Linked DNA regions of Homo sapiens: region 1 is linked to region 2. The links are contacts of gene promoters, found by promoter capture Hi-C in blood cells and fetal thymus (Javierre and others, 2016). All regions are on one chromosome and are shown on one strand. The core of a region is centred on a gene start or on the middle of the fragment in contact, and the rest is flanking DNA. Distances in the headings are between cores, read along the strand shown.

Region 1 (7,140 bases), core at 4,382-6,881, 1.0 Mb before region 2:
TTATGGGTTAGGTGAGTCACTTGGAGACAGCAGATAGTTGGTTGGTGAATTTTTATCTATTCTGACATTCTGTATCTTTCAAGTGGAGCATTTAGGGCATTTACATTCAATATTATTTTGAGATGTGAGGTACTGTTGTATTCATCATGCTAGTTGTTGCCTTAATGCCTTGTTTTTTTTTATTGTGTTAGTGTTGTATAAGCTCTGTAACATTTATGCTTTAAAAATATTCTATTTGTTTTTTGACATTTTGTTTCAAGATTTAGAACTCCTTTTAACATTTTTTGTAGTGCTGGGTTAGTAGTGGCAAATTCTCTCAGTATTTGTTTGTCTGTAAAAGACTTTGTCCTTTATTTATGAAGCTTTGTTTTGCTGAATACAAAATTATTGGCTGACAATTATCTTGTTTCATTAGGCTAAAGATGGAACACCCATCTCTTCTGGCTTGCAAGGTTTCTTGTGAGAAATCTGATGTTAATCTGATTGGGTTTCCTTTACAGGTTATCTAATGCCTTTGTCTCACAGCTCTTGAGATTCTTTCTTTCGTCTTGACTATAAATAACCTGATGACTACGTACTTAGGTGATGATCTTTTTGCGATGAATTTCTCAGGTGTTCTTTGAGCTTCTTGTATTTGGATATCTAGATTTCTAGCAAGGCCATGGAATTTTTCCTCAATTATTCCCTGAAATAAGTTTTCCAAACTTTTTGATTTCCTCTTCCTCAGGAACACCATTATTCTAAAGTTTGGCCATTTAACATAATCACAAATTCTTGGGGACTTTGTTCATTTTTTAAAATTCTTTTTTCTTTGTCTTTGGGTTAATTTGAATGCCTTATCTTCAAGCTTTGAAGTTTTTTCTTCTACTTGTTTTAGTCTATTGGTGTAACTTTCCACTACATTTTGTATTTCTCTAAGTTTGTCCTTCATTTCTAGAAGTTGTGATTATTTTTTCTTTATGATATATATTTCTCTGGAGAATTTTTTATCCATATCCTGTATTTTTTTTTCAAAATTTAAGTTGTTTTTCACCTTTCTCTGGTATCTTTTTGAGTAGCTTAATAATCAGCATCTTAAATTCTTCATCTTGCAATTCAGAGATTTCTTCTTGGTTTGGATCCATTGCTGGAGAGCTGGTGTGATCTTTTTGAGGAGTGTTTTAGAATGCTGTTTGGTCATATTATCAGAATTACTTTTCTGGTTTCTTCTCAGTAGGGTAGCGTATTTCAGTGGAAAGGTCTGAAATACAAGGCCTACTGTTCAGATTCTCCGGTCTCTTGGAGTGATCCCTTCATGTGGTGCTCTTTCCCTTCCCCTAGGAATGAGGCTTCCTTAGAGCTGGACTGCAGTGATTGTTATTGCTCTTCTGGATCTAGCCACCCAGTGGGGCTAACAGTCTCCAGGCTGGTGCTGGGGAATGTCTGCAAAGTCCTGTGATGTGGTCCAACTTCAGGTGCCCCAGCCATAGATACCAGCACCTGCTCTGGTGGAGGTTGCAGGGGAGTGAAATAGATTCTCTTAGAGTGCTTGGTTGTAGATATTTTTAGTGTGCTGGCTTTCTCAAGTGCTGGTTATGCTAGCAGTGAAGCTGTCCTGCAGACACACTCAGGACCCCTGTTAGCCAGGATGTTGCAGGCATTGGAATTAGGTATTGTTTTCTTCCTGGTATCAGGGTTATTCTGTCATGAGTTGCTGTAATGAGCTGAGTTGGTTGGCCTTCAGCCAGGAGGTGGCACTTTCAAGAGAGCACCAGCTGTGTGGTAGTAGTAGGGGGACCAAAGCTTGCCCTAAATTAGTCAGTGTAAGTATTTTGGTTTCTAAGGCAGTGGGCGGGGTCATAGAGCTCCCAAGAGTTTTTATCTTTTGAGTTTGACTATGAGAGCCTATAGAGAAGTACCATCAGGTGGGGGCAAGGTTAGGTGGGTCTGGGCTCAGGCTCTTTAGGTGGGGCTTGCCATGGCTACTGTGGGGGCCAGAGGGTGGTTTTTGGGCCGATGGGGTTATGGTCCAGAGGGAATCTTGGCTGCCTCTGCTTTGTCAATATAGTTCACCAGGGAAATAGAGGATAGCCAATAGCGAGAGGCCTCACCCAGCTCCCAAGTGGTTGATGAGTCCAGTCTTGCTCCTGCAGTGCCCTGCTCAGACCTTGCCCCAGGCTGTGAGCTTTCCCACTGAGAAAGCAAGCCTGGCTTTTGGTCCTCACCCCTCCCTGCCTGCCCACTTCATTGGCAGCAGCTGCTGGACTTGTATTTGCGGTAGCTCCTGCTCATCTCCTAGACTCTACTCAGGAAAATCATGCCCAGTCAAAACCACTACCAATTTCAGCTGGAAGCTTCCTTCACCCTGAGACCTCTCCCCTATTCCTCTGGCTATTTTCTCCTAGGGACCCTGTGAGATGTAGTCAAGGATGGCTTCCCTGGACTTGAGCTGGAGACTGGGAGTGCCTGCAAGGAACTTCCCACTGCTGCTTCTACTTTTATATTTTGTATTTTGCATAACTCTTTACATCTATTTCAGCTCTAAGTCAGGCTAAATCCTTCCCAATGATCTGTGTTTTCAGATTCTCCAGTGGGTATGTGTGTTTGGAAGCAGGTTTTTCCTCTCTCACACTTTGGGAACTCACAGATTTTTGCTTGTCTTGTGGCATTTGCAGTGGCATGCTGCTTCTTTCAAAGGATCTGTGAATTCTTTTAGTTTGTTTGGTACCTTCCTGCAGTGGTTCTTGGAGCAAAAGATCACAGTGTGAGTTTCCACACACTATTCTGTCTATCCAAGTGGGAGCTGCACATTAGCTCTACCTCCTATCCACCATCTTGTCCCCTTAATCACGCTTTCTTTATCTAGTTCACTGTTAATGGATATCTAGGTTGATTCCGTATATTTGCTATTTTAAACAGTGCTGTGATGAACATACGAGTTAATGTGTCTTCATGGTTTCTTGTATAGTTTCCTTTGCTGTGCAGAAGATTTAGTTTAATTAGTTTCCACTTGTCACTTTTTGTTTTTGTTGTGTTTGATTTTGGAGTCTTCATTATGGCAGATAATACAGGGTTTTCTAGGTATAGTATCATGTTGTCTGCTAAAAGAGATAATTTGACTTTCTCTCTTCTTATTTGGATGCCTTTTATTTCTTTATCTTGCCTGATTCCTTGGGCTAGGACACTCTGTACTATTCTGAATAGGAGTGGTGAGAGTGGGCTTCCTTGTCTTTTCTCAGTTCTCAAAAGAATTCTTCCAGCTTTTATCCATTAAATATGATGTTGGCTGTGGGTTTGTCATGGATTGCTGTTATTATTTTGAGCTATGTTCCTTCATTGCCTATTTTATTGAAGGTTTTTAACATGAAGCCACGTTGAATTTTACTTAAAGCTCTTTCTACATCTATTGAGATGATCATGTGTTTTTTTGTTTTAGTTTTGTATATGTGATGAATCACATTTATTGATTTGCTTATGTTGAACCAACCTTGCATCTTAAGAATAAAGCCCACTTGGTCATGGTAGACTAGCTTTTTGATATGCCGCTGGATTGTGTTTGCTAGTGTTATGTTGAGGATTTTGTGTATCTATGTTCATCAGGAATGTTGGCCTGAAGTTTTCTATTTTCACTGTGTCTCTGCTAGAGACTCAATATGTTGGCCTCACAGAATGAGTTAGAGAGGAGTTCTTCCTTCTCGTTTTTTGGGAATAACTTTAGTAGGATTGGTACCAGCGCTTCTTCATATGTCTGGTTGAATTCCACTGAGAGTCTTTCTGGTCCAAGGCTTTATCTGGTTGGTAGGTTTTTTATTATTGATTCAATTGTGGAACTCATTATTGATCTGTTTGAGGTTTTAGTTTCTTTCTGGTTCAATCTTGGGAGATTTTATGTTTCCAAGTATTTATCAATTTCGTCTCTAGGTTTTCTTGTTTGTGTGCCTACAGGTATTTACAAGAGTTTCTGAGGGTTTTCTGTGTTTTGTGGGTGGCTGATGATGTTCCCTTTGTCATTTCTGATTGTCTTTATTTGGATCTTCTTTCTTTTTTCTTTATTAGTTCAGCTAGTGGTTTATCAATGTTATTTGTCCTTTCAAAGAACTGTTATATTTGGTTTCATTGATCTTTTGTATGGGTTTCCTCATGTCCATTTTATTCAGTTCAGCACTGATATTTGTTACTTATTTTCTTCCACTAGCTTTGGGGTTGGTTTTGCTCTTTTTTATAGTTCCTCAAGGTGTGTCATTAGATTGTTAATTTGAGATCTTTCTAACTTTTTGATGTGGGTGTTAGCACTATAAACTTTCTTCTTGAAACTGCTTTAGCTGTGTTCCAGAGAGTCTGGTATGTTGCAACTTTGTTTTCATTAGTTCCAAAGAATTTCTTGATGTCTGCCTTATTTCTATTCTTCATTCAAAAGTCACTCAGAAGCACATTTTTAAATTTCCATGTAATTGTATGCTTTTGAGAGATCTTCTTGGTATTGATTGTTATTTTTACTGTGCAGTGGTCCAAGCATGTGGTTAGTATGATTTCATCTTTTTTGAATTTGTTGATAGTTGTTTCATGGCTGAGTGTGTCATTCATGTTAGAATATATGCCATGTGCAGATTAGAAGAGTGTAGATTCTATTTTTGTCAGGTGGAGTATTCTGTAGATATCCATTAGGTCCATTTGGTGAAATGTTGAGTTTATGTCCCAAGTATCTTTGTTAATATTCTGCCTCAGTAATCTGTCTAATACTATCAGTGAGTTGTTGAAGTCTCTTACTATTATTGTGTGATTATCTAAGTATCTCAAGTCTCTAAGTATGTGTTTCGTGAATCTGGGTTCTCCAGTGTTGAGTGCATATATATTTAAGAGAGTTAAGTCTTCTTGTTGAATTGAATGCTTTATCATTATGTAATGCCCTTCTTTGTCCTTTTTGATCATTGTTGGTTTAAAGACTGTTTTGTCTGAAATAAGACTAGCAACCACTGCTCTTTTTTGTTTTCCATTTGCTAGACAGATTTTTCTCAACTCTTTATGTTGAGCCTATGAGTGTCCTTGCATGTAAGATGGATCTCTTGAAGACATCATACAGTTGGGTCTTGCTTCATTATTCACTTGACACTCTGCCTTTTAAGTGGGGTGTATGGTCCATTTATATTCAAGGTTAATATTGATATTGGTGGATTTGATCCTGTTACCATACTGTTAGCTGGCTGTTATGTACACTTGACTGTGTAGTTGCTTTATAGTGTTAATGGTCTATGTACTTAATTGTGTTTTTGTGGTGGCCTGTAATGGTCTTCTGTTATCATGTTTAGCACTCCCTTAAGCACCTTTTCTCAGGCCAGTTTGGTGGTAATAAATTGCCTTACCATGTTCTTGTCTAAAAAGGATTTTATCTCTCCTTTTCTCATGAAACTTGGTTTGGCTGGATAGGTTTTGTTCCTTTTTTTAAATACTTTTTTCTTCATTTTGGTCTGAGTTGTTTCGAAGAACTGGTCATCAAGCTCTGAGATTCTTTTTTTCCTCAGACTAGTATACTCTGCTGTTCATACTTCCAATTGTGTTATAAAAAATATGCAATGCTTTACAAATTTGCATGTCATCCTCACACAGGGGCCATGCTGACCTTCTCTGTATTTTTCCAATGTTATTAATAGTATATGTGCTGCTAAGGTGGGTACTACATTCTTTTTCACAGCTATGTAGTATTCCATGCACCATATTTTCATTTTCTAATCCACTGTTCATGGACACCTAGGTTGGATCCGTATATTTGCTATTGTGAGTAGTGCTGCAGTGAACATACAAGTATAAGTGTCTTTTTGGTAGAATGATTTATTTTCCTTTTGGTATATACCCAGTAATGGGATTGCTGGGTCAAATGGTAATTCTATTTTAAGTTCTTTGAGAAAATTTCAAACTGCTTTCCATAATGGATGCACTAGTTTATATTTCCACAGTATATAAGCATTTCCCTTTCTCCACAACCTTGCCAGCATCTGTTATTTTTTGACTTTTCAGTAATAGCCATTCTGACTAGTGTAACTCATTGTGGTTTTGATTCCCATTTCTTTGATGATTAGTGATATTCATATGTGTGTCAGTCATCTGCATATCTTCTTTTGAGAAATGTCTGTTCATGCCCTTTGCCCATTTTTATTAGGGTTATTAATCTTTTGCTTGTTGTATTGTTTAAGTTCCTTATGGATTCTGGAAATTAGACCTTTGTCAGATGCAATGTTTGCAAATATTTTATCCCATTCTGTAGGTTGTCTGTTTTCTCTGTTGATAGTTTCTTTTGCTGTGCATAAGCTCTTTAGTTTAATTAGATCCCACTTGTCAATTTTTGTTTTCATTACAACTGCTTTTGAGGACTTAATCATAAATTCTTTGCTAAGTCGAATGTCCAGAATGGTATTTTGTAAGTTTTCTTCTAGGATTTTTACAGTTTGAGGTCTTCCATTTAAATCTTTAATCAATCTTAATTAATTTTTGTATATGGTGAAAGGTAGGGATCCAGTTTCATTCTTTTGCATATGGCTAGGCAGTTATCTCAGTACCATTTATTGGACAGGGAATCCTTTTTTCATTGTTTATTTTTGACAGCTTTGCTGAATATCACATGGCTGTATGTGTGTGGCTTTATTTCTGGTTTCTCTATTCTCTTCCTTTGGTCTATATGTCAGTTTTTGTACCAATATTATGTTGCTTTGGTTACTGTAGGCTTATAGTACAGTATAGTTTAAATTCAGGTAATGTGATGAATCTGGGTTTGTTCTTTTTGTGTAGGATTGCATTGGCTATTTGACCTCTTTTTTTGGTTCCGTATGAATTTTAGAATATTTATTTCTAATTATTTGAAAATTGATGTTGTTTAATAGGGATATTGTTAAGTTTGTAGATTGCTTTGGGCAGTATGGCCATTTTAGCAATGTTGATTCTTCCAATTCATAAGTGTGGAAGGTTTTTCCATTTGTTTATATCATCTCTGATTTCTTTCAGCAATGTTTTTAAATTCCCATTGTAGAGATCCTATTTGGTTAGGTGTATTTCTAGATATTTTATTATTTTTTGGTGGCTAGTATAAATATAATTGCATTCTTAATTTGGCTGTCAGCTTGAATGTTATTGGTGTATAGAAATGCTGCTGATTTTTGTACGTTGATTTTG
Region 2 (7,450 bases), core at 3,664-6,163:
TTTAAAATGATGAACACAGGGAGTAGAAGCAGGGAGAATGATTAAGAATTTTACAATAATACAGATGAGAGACAATGGTGGCTTGGACCAAAGGGGTGGCATGAAGATGGTGAGAAGCAGTCAGATTCTGGATATATTTTGGAGGTATATGTAACATTCTGTAAGATTGAATCTAGTGTGTGAAATAGGAGTAAGAATGACTCCAATATGTTTAGCCAGTGGAACCAGAGGGATGGAGTTGCCATCATAAGAGGAATGTTCTCTGGTTTTGGAGGACTGAGATGCGGCCTTTGGTTTTGGAAGTTTTAGGTATGAGGAATCTATTAGGTAAACAAGTGCAGATATTGAGTGAGCAGGCAAATATCTGAGTATGGAGTTGAGGGAGAGAATCAGCTGGAGATACAAATATGGGGGTCATCTGGAAGTCTGTATTGATAACTTACTCCCTTCCCTCCATTTCCAGATACAGAAACATTTCTTCTGTGAAGCAGAATTGGAAACCCTTTTGAGAGAATATATCTCTCTTCATGAGATAGGATAGGTTGTGTGATATGTTAACTTTCACTCTTTTACACTCTTCAGTGACCTAGGAGTTTGTTTAAAAACCAAAGAAACTTGGTTCTGTACATAAAATAACTTCAGTGGAATCTCTGCTTCCACTGAGGTTTTAATTCTTGGCATTTTTTATTTTAAAGATTAGCAACTTGTTTCAAGTTAGAGGAGATGGCAGGGTCAAAATTTTAGAAACTGGATCCCACCACCACTGTGTTACTTCCTAAACCTGCATCAAATGTTCTGCCAACATGTAATGTGCCAATAGAATTATACGGTGTGAACTGCATATCTCAGTATCTCCACAGGGAAAAAACTGTGGTTGGGGCATGGAGGGGGGAAAGGGAAACTCTTCTTTAAGTTATTTATGTAAACTAAAGATTTATCATTTCATATTACACTGTCTACAATAAGTACATAAATACATTTTTCAGCCAATCTGAGTGTTTTATAAATATACAAATATTGCCACTTATGTTGGGGTGATTCAAAGTCAAGCATTAGCTCATACACTGTGGCTAAAGTTTAAAAGTTCTGTTTCATGTATAAAAAACCATACTGTGGGCTAAAATGACAAGTTCCTTGTGGTAAACCATTTGACTAGTCTCTCTGGTCTGAGAAGAGATGAACTAGTTTTCAGCTAATACGGAACAAAGGGAGTGGGTGCAGCAAAATATTCAAGTTAATTTTTAAACCTGCATAATAATAATGCAACCCTTGACAAACCTGATCAACTCCTATCCCAGGAAGATTCAAGACCACAGAGACATCAGTGAGCCAGTCTGAATGTTTAGTTCAGCTTTTCAAAACACTGAATGCCTATTCAGTGCTGTGTGGCTTCTACATTTCTACATAGATCACTTTCTCATTAATTGATGCCATTTTGCCCTGGTTTTGTTTCACGGATTAAATTAAGAACCAATAATATCTAAATGCTGGTATCAAATAAAAACACAGAACTCTCTGTTGGCCTATTTCAATCAAAAATAGATATATATCACTGTCATAGGCAGTTCAACCATAAAAGAAATTTTAATTTTTGTAATTAGGCCTTTTAATAGAAGGACATGACTTCTAATTAAATCCACATTATTCAGTAATTTCATATGTTAGTTTGTTTTCTTTATGCTTTGTACTCTAAATGTTAAAATGATTCTCTAAATTATTGTTTCAGATTTTATAAAGTGATAAAAATACAACAAAATACAAGAAAGAGAAAAATAGTTTCTTTATGGAATACACAAAGAATATATTAAATGTTTTTAAAAATCATATATTTATTTTAAATATTTTATGAAACCAATAAATGTTCTACCATGATAATGTTTTATCATTGTTATAGTAACTTTTCTGATAATGCTACGGTCTTAAGAAATATGGGTTGGCTTGGAGAAATAAGAAATATTTTTACTACAAACACAGCATAAGAGTAATGCTGATTTTGAGCAATTGATTTTAAAATATTTACTTCTCTATGTCTTTTTAAACCATGAAGATAGCTAGTTAGTTTTACTTAAAATAAGATGAAAATTAAAGATACATATTCCCTAGCCCAAGCCAAAACATAAAACAAAAACCTAACTTAAGAGACCATTAAAAATAAACAAAATTAGACTTGCAAACGTTCTAGTAATACATAGGCTACACTGCTTTTTACAGAATTACTGAATATTCATCGAAGTATAATTCATATGCATTTAGTTAGAAGCTGGAGAAAGCTTACTATGATAATAAAAATACAATAGATTATAAGCTCCTTTTTTTGAATTAAATAGGCAAAAGCAGAATAATAACAATATAGCACAAACAATCAAGCAAATTTTGAGAGCTATTTTGGTAGAATATTTTATATGAGAGAGAAGATAGAGTCAAAGATAGACATGACAACTCAATGAGACCTAAATGTAAATGATAAAACCATCGACAAAAGCCTTGAAGGAAAATGCTTTTCCCCTCGGGGGATGATTTGTACTGGCCTCCAGGTGTAATATTATGTGCACTGATGAGCTGATCAACGGAACAGAACTTCTACCCAGCTGTAATCAAGAGTGATTGATGGTTGGGACGAAAAAAGTTGATTATCATGACAAGTTCGCTGATGCAGAGAAAATAAGCTCTGCTTGGGAAATGGATAAAACCTGTTCAGAGACTACCTTCTGAAAACTTATTTATAAAGGAATCTAAGAGAAGGTTAAAAGTTGTGAAGATGAACCTGATGTCCCGATAAACCTGATAAGAATAATTTGCCATACGTCAATCTCCACAGATTTCGTAAACAAGAAATTTAAAAGCTCATTTATGCCCAATAAAGAGTAACCACATACCCTGAATGTTACTTATGTGATTATGAAAAGATCTACTTCTCGAAGTACCACTGAAAATCACATGTACACAGAGAATTAAACTTTCATGGCATATCTTGCCTCCGTTTCTCTTCAACTCCCTCCTCACGAGGTAAGACTTCCCCAAACGACTGCAATCTTTACCACTATCAGATTCAATTTATATCAAAACACAGATTTGGACTGAGACAACAGATCCCAGAGGCAGTATTTTGCATTTAAAATGAGGTTTGGTAGGCTTCATAAAAGGTGAATCTGGGCCAGTGTTGGGTGTAAGTACAGTGTTCTAATATAGTAGTACCTGGATTGTGCAAAGATCTGTAGAATATGAAAGAATACATTCATCTTTTCAAATTCTGATAAGTCATCTAAGAAATTCTAGCAACGTAATCCAAATGCAGTGTGTAATTTATGCATGCCTGGTACAATTTCATTCCCCTTAATTAGAGAATAAAACCAAATCACCACTCTTAAACCAATCACCATAAGAAACTTTAGTGTGAAGAAGGTTAAAAATGAATGGGTGCTACACAGATTTGGGGGCAGAAGGTAAATGGGAAATCTCTGTACCTTCTGCTTAATACTACTGTGAGCCTCAAACTGCTCTAAAAATAAAGTTCATTTTTTCTACATAGACATTTTTGGCCATGGAGACACTTGAGAAAGGTAAATTATTTCATCACAATTACTCTAGTTAATACAGAGGATAGGGCTCAGTAAAAATTAGACAACAACAAATAGCAACTGTTAGGAAGGGAAGGATACGAATGGCCACAAAACCCCAAATTACACAGGAATAGACATTAATATGAGTTACCTTTTCTTAAATTTCTTTGCTCATCTGACCAGGAACAAACCCTCCTACTGTCCTAGTTTTCAGGACTAGGATGAAACTGATTATTTATGATATGCTGAAATAAATTATAACAAAATATAACAAAAAAAGCAAGAGTCTTGATAAACAGGAACTAGGATTAATGAAATGGAATGAGCAAATTTTATCTTTGAGATTTTCAATTATTGGTGACCACTAATCTAGTTTCTACTTTTGGTTTCTATAAGTTTTGTTAGTGCCTACTAATACTTTAAGAAGTGTATACAGTTGTAAAAAGAGATACAAAAAAACTGATTAAAATTTTAATAGATATGTATATCCAGCAATTTGTGGGCAACTGGTTTTCATCAAGGATTTTATTCCATAGCTAATAAAGATTTCATCAGCGCTGGTGCACTCTGAAATATTCACAATCATAAAGCTAAAATTTGGGGATGTTTGACAATAGTAATTTTTTTTCAAATAAACTAAAACTCGGAGGCTTCTACAAAACAAGCTTTCAGAATCATAAGAACAAGTTTCTAGGTCATGCTCAAGTCTAATTGCACTTATTTACTTCCCTTTAAAAATATGTGAATTTTCATGTTTAGGTTTCAGAGAATCAGTTACTTAGGATATGAATCCTGCATTGTGGAGAGAGTAGTCACTGTGGAAAAGGAAGCCTAAACTTCATTTTTATCAAAATGCAGAAATTATGAAACTTAAACCATCTTAGAGATTCCTGGGTTTTTCTTCTCTTTCTTTTTTTTTTTTTCCCAGAGATGATGAGGTGTCAGCCTGCTGCCCAGGCTGGAGAGCGGTGGTGTGATCAGTACCCATTGCAACCTCGAACCGCTGGGCTCAAGCAATCCTCAAACCTCTGCTTCTCAAGTAGCTAGGACTACAGGTGCGCACCACCATGCCCGGCTAATTTTTTAAGATTTTTGGAGAGATAGTCTTGCTGTGTTGCCCAGGCTGCTCTCAATCCCTTGGCCTGCCAGTGATCCTCTTACTTCCACCTCCTCAAGCACTGGGATTACAGGTGTGTGCCACTGAAACAGCCAGGTGAGGGGGGTACCCTGGACAAACTCTAATCAGCCTGCCCACTGAGGTGTAGCCTCAGGAAGTTCAATAGGGAGGAGCCTGGCCCCTCCTCTTCCTGTGTGGAACCTGCGATTTCAAGGGCCGACAGGAAGCCTCGATCGGGGAACTCTGACCTTGCGGAGGAAACTTGTTTCCCTTTTTTTCTTCCCGCCGACTTTCACTCGATAAAACCCTGCTTTATTCACCCTTTAAACCTTCTCCAAACCTAAATTTTCCTGGCCTTGGGACGGACAAGAACCCAGTCTTCAGATGAAGGAAGGAAAAGTCCTGCAACATTCTTGGCGTGCAACGTTGGGGCTCTTGAAGAGGTGAGTGAAAGGGGGACTCAAAACCTCTCACTGTTGGCCGGGCGCGGTGGCTGATGCCTGTAATTCCAGCACTTTGGGAGGCCAAGGCGAGCGGATCACGTGAGGTCAGGAGTTTGAGACCAGCCTGGCCAACATGGTGAAACCCCTCTCTAGTAAAAATACAAAAATAAGCCGGTGTGGTGGCGCGCGCCTGTAATCTCAGCTACACAGGGGGCTGAGGCAGGAGAATCACTTGAAGCTGGCTGGGAGGCGGAGGTTTTAGTGAGCCAAGATCACGCCACTCTACTCCAGCCTGCGCGACAAGAGCGGGACTATCTCGGAAAACCGCTCACCCTTGTTTCTAAGACTTTTCATCCTGCAACTTCTGAGCATATGGGAGACCGCTCCCCACCCCTTGTCGCTCCTGGGGGTCGGGGGCCTTTTCACGGTCTTTTCCTTTTTCCAGACGGACTAGCGAGCAGCAGTTCCCAGCCGCTCCCCACTCCTTGCGGGGCTGGGATGCATGGCCTAAGGGTCCCGCACAGCCGGTTGGCTGGTTCCCAGCCACAAGCGTCTGCAGCCTTCCCCTTCCCCACCCAAGGGGTTCTACTCCATCCGACAGTAATTAAGCTTTAACTTTTCTTATGCAACTGGTGGAGGAAACAGTTGCATAAGAATAAGAGGTTCTTCCCCAGGCATTCTTAAACTGTTGATTTTCTTTCCCCTTCTGTGTCCTGTCAGCAAGTTAACTTTTAAAGTTTCTTTTTTTCTTTCTTTCTAGAAGATGTTGTATTAAGGTAGGCCCCCCAGCCCCGCAGCTATCGCTGTTTATATTTTCTGCAAAGTTTTGGTTGTGAAATGAAGCCTCCATGTTGTTTTACATCCTGAGGGCATGGCTTGTAACTGGTGGCAAGGCTTTGTTTAGCAATCCTGCCTTAGGAAGTAAGTTTCTTTCTGGTTTGATATCTGCATGTTTTCCTAGCCCTGTTTCTTAAAGGACCCCACCTAGCGACTGGATTTTTTTGTGTGTGTGTAGTGTGTGATGTCCGTAAAAAGAGTTCTAATTAATTTGTCCTAAAGAAAGACAAGCACTTGGATCTAATATTTTTTAAAGGGCAGATAAAATCTGTGGTACCTTTCAGTTCACGTGGCTTTAATCTTTAAGAAATAAAAACAGCCCTAAAGACTTAGTAAAATGCAGGTCAGATGCAAGTGTTTTGAGGTTAAACTGCTTGTTGGGTTTTGAGAACTATTTGCTTTGCCAGCTTCGCAATTGGTAAGGCCTGGGGACATATGGAACTAACCACAGACTTGACTAAGAAGGCAAAACGTGGCTGCAGTTAGCACACAATTAAGGCAACTTATCAAGTTTTCCCTTAAAGTTAAAAATTGCTAGGAGTTTATCGACATTACTAGAAATGGATTTGCATGCAAGGTGTGTAGGAACAGTAAAATGTGTTTTGTGTTTTTTTTAGTGAAAGGTTATAAGAAGGTGTGGAAATGTAAACTTTCGCCTAGGGTTACAGGATTGTTTTGAGTTAGGAAAAAGCTGAAGGTTCAAAGAAGTGTTGGAAAAATTCTGGAAATTAATCTTGAAAAAGAGGTTCTCTGTGTGAACATATTGACTGAATTCAAAAAAAGGTATTATGTGGTTTTTCTGCAAATTGAGCATTGAAATACAATCAGAAGGTATTCTTAAAATGCTAATCTGGTCTTCGGCAAAATTTATAAAGATTCATGAAAGGTTTTTGCTTCTTTAAAATTTCTGAGTCATCATTTTGGCAAAATAAATAACTTTTTGGCAATCTGGAATTCTGTTTCATAATATTAAGTGTTTTAGACCTCGAACATTTAGCAGCCTAACCAAAATCAAACTTCAGTTTCAAAATTGTCTTCCCTGGCACCTGGCTTTGCGAATACTTCAGAGGGCCCCTGAAGTGTCCAGAAAAGAGAGGCAAACAGGATTATTTGACGTGTTCACGTATACAGGATTGCCAAAATGATGTTCAATCTTCCTTAGGTTATATCTTGGTGAATAATGCTAACATATGTTCGAAAATTGTATGGGATTTCTAAAACTAATGGCTAAGTATATGCCATCAATCATAATGAAGGTTGTTAAGTTATTGTAAACCATAGAGATAACTAAACTTCTTTCCCTGTTGTGTTTCTAACTGTAACTACCCTGGATATTTTGCTATTCACAGACAATTTTTGTCTTGTTTTAATCCTTTTCAAAGATGGTTTAAAATGAGCTATAGAACTTTAACAGGTGCTCTCAAATACAGACTTGTGATAACTTTAGAGATTGTAACATTGGAATAAAGGAAAATGTACAAGACTCATGAAGA

Evidence for each region. Contacts are between HindIII fragments. The CHiCAGO score rates a contact against its expected background, and 5 or more counts as called.
Region 1: a fragment that was not itself captured here is called in contact with the fragment with the promoter of ZNF385D-AS1 in region 2 in 1 of 17 cell types (M2 macrophages); the score reaches 5.6 in M2 macrophages.

The regions. Positions count from the first base shown.
Region 1 is chr3:20,502,106-20,509,245 of GRCh38, forward strand. It overlaps the pseudogene RNU6-815P. Among named protein-coding and RNA genes, the nearest start is that of SGO1, 320 kb to the left of the region's middle. The HindIII fragment of the contact is 6,600 bases long and covers 2,332-7,140 here.
Region 2 is chr3:21,537,876-21,545,325 of GRCh38, forward strand. It overlaps ZNF385D-AS1 (ZNF385D antisense RNA 1), which reads left to right and starts at 4,914. Exons shown (of 3, transcript NR_046731.1): 1 at 4,914-5,120. The region is part of intron 3 of ZNF385D (zinc finger protein 385D); the gene reads right to left. RefSeq lists an enhancer at 5,482-6,062. The HindIII fragment of the contact is 1,504 bases long and covers 4,224-5,727 here.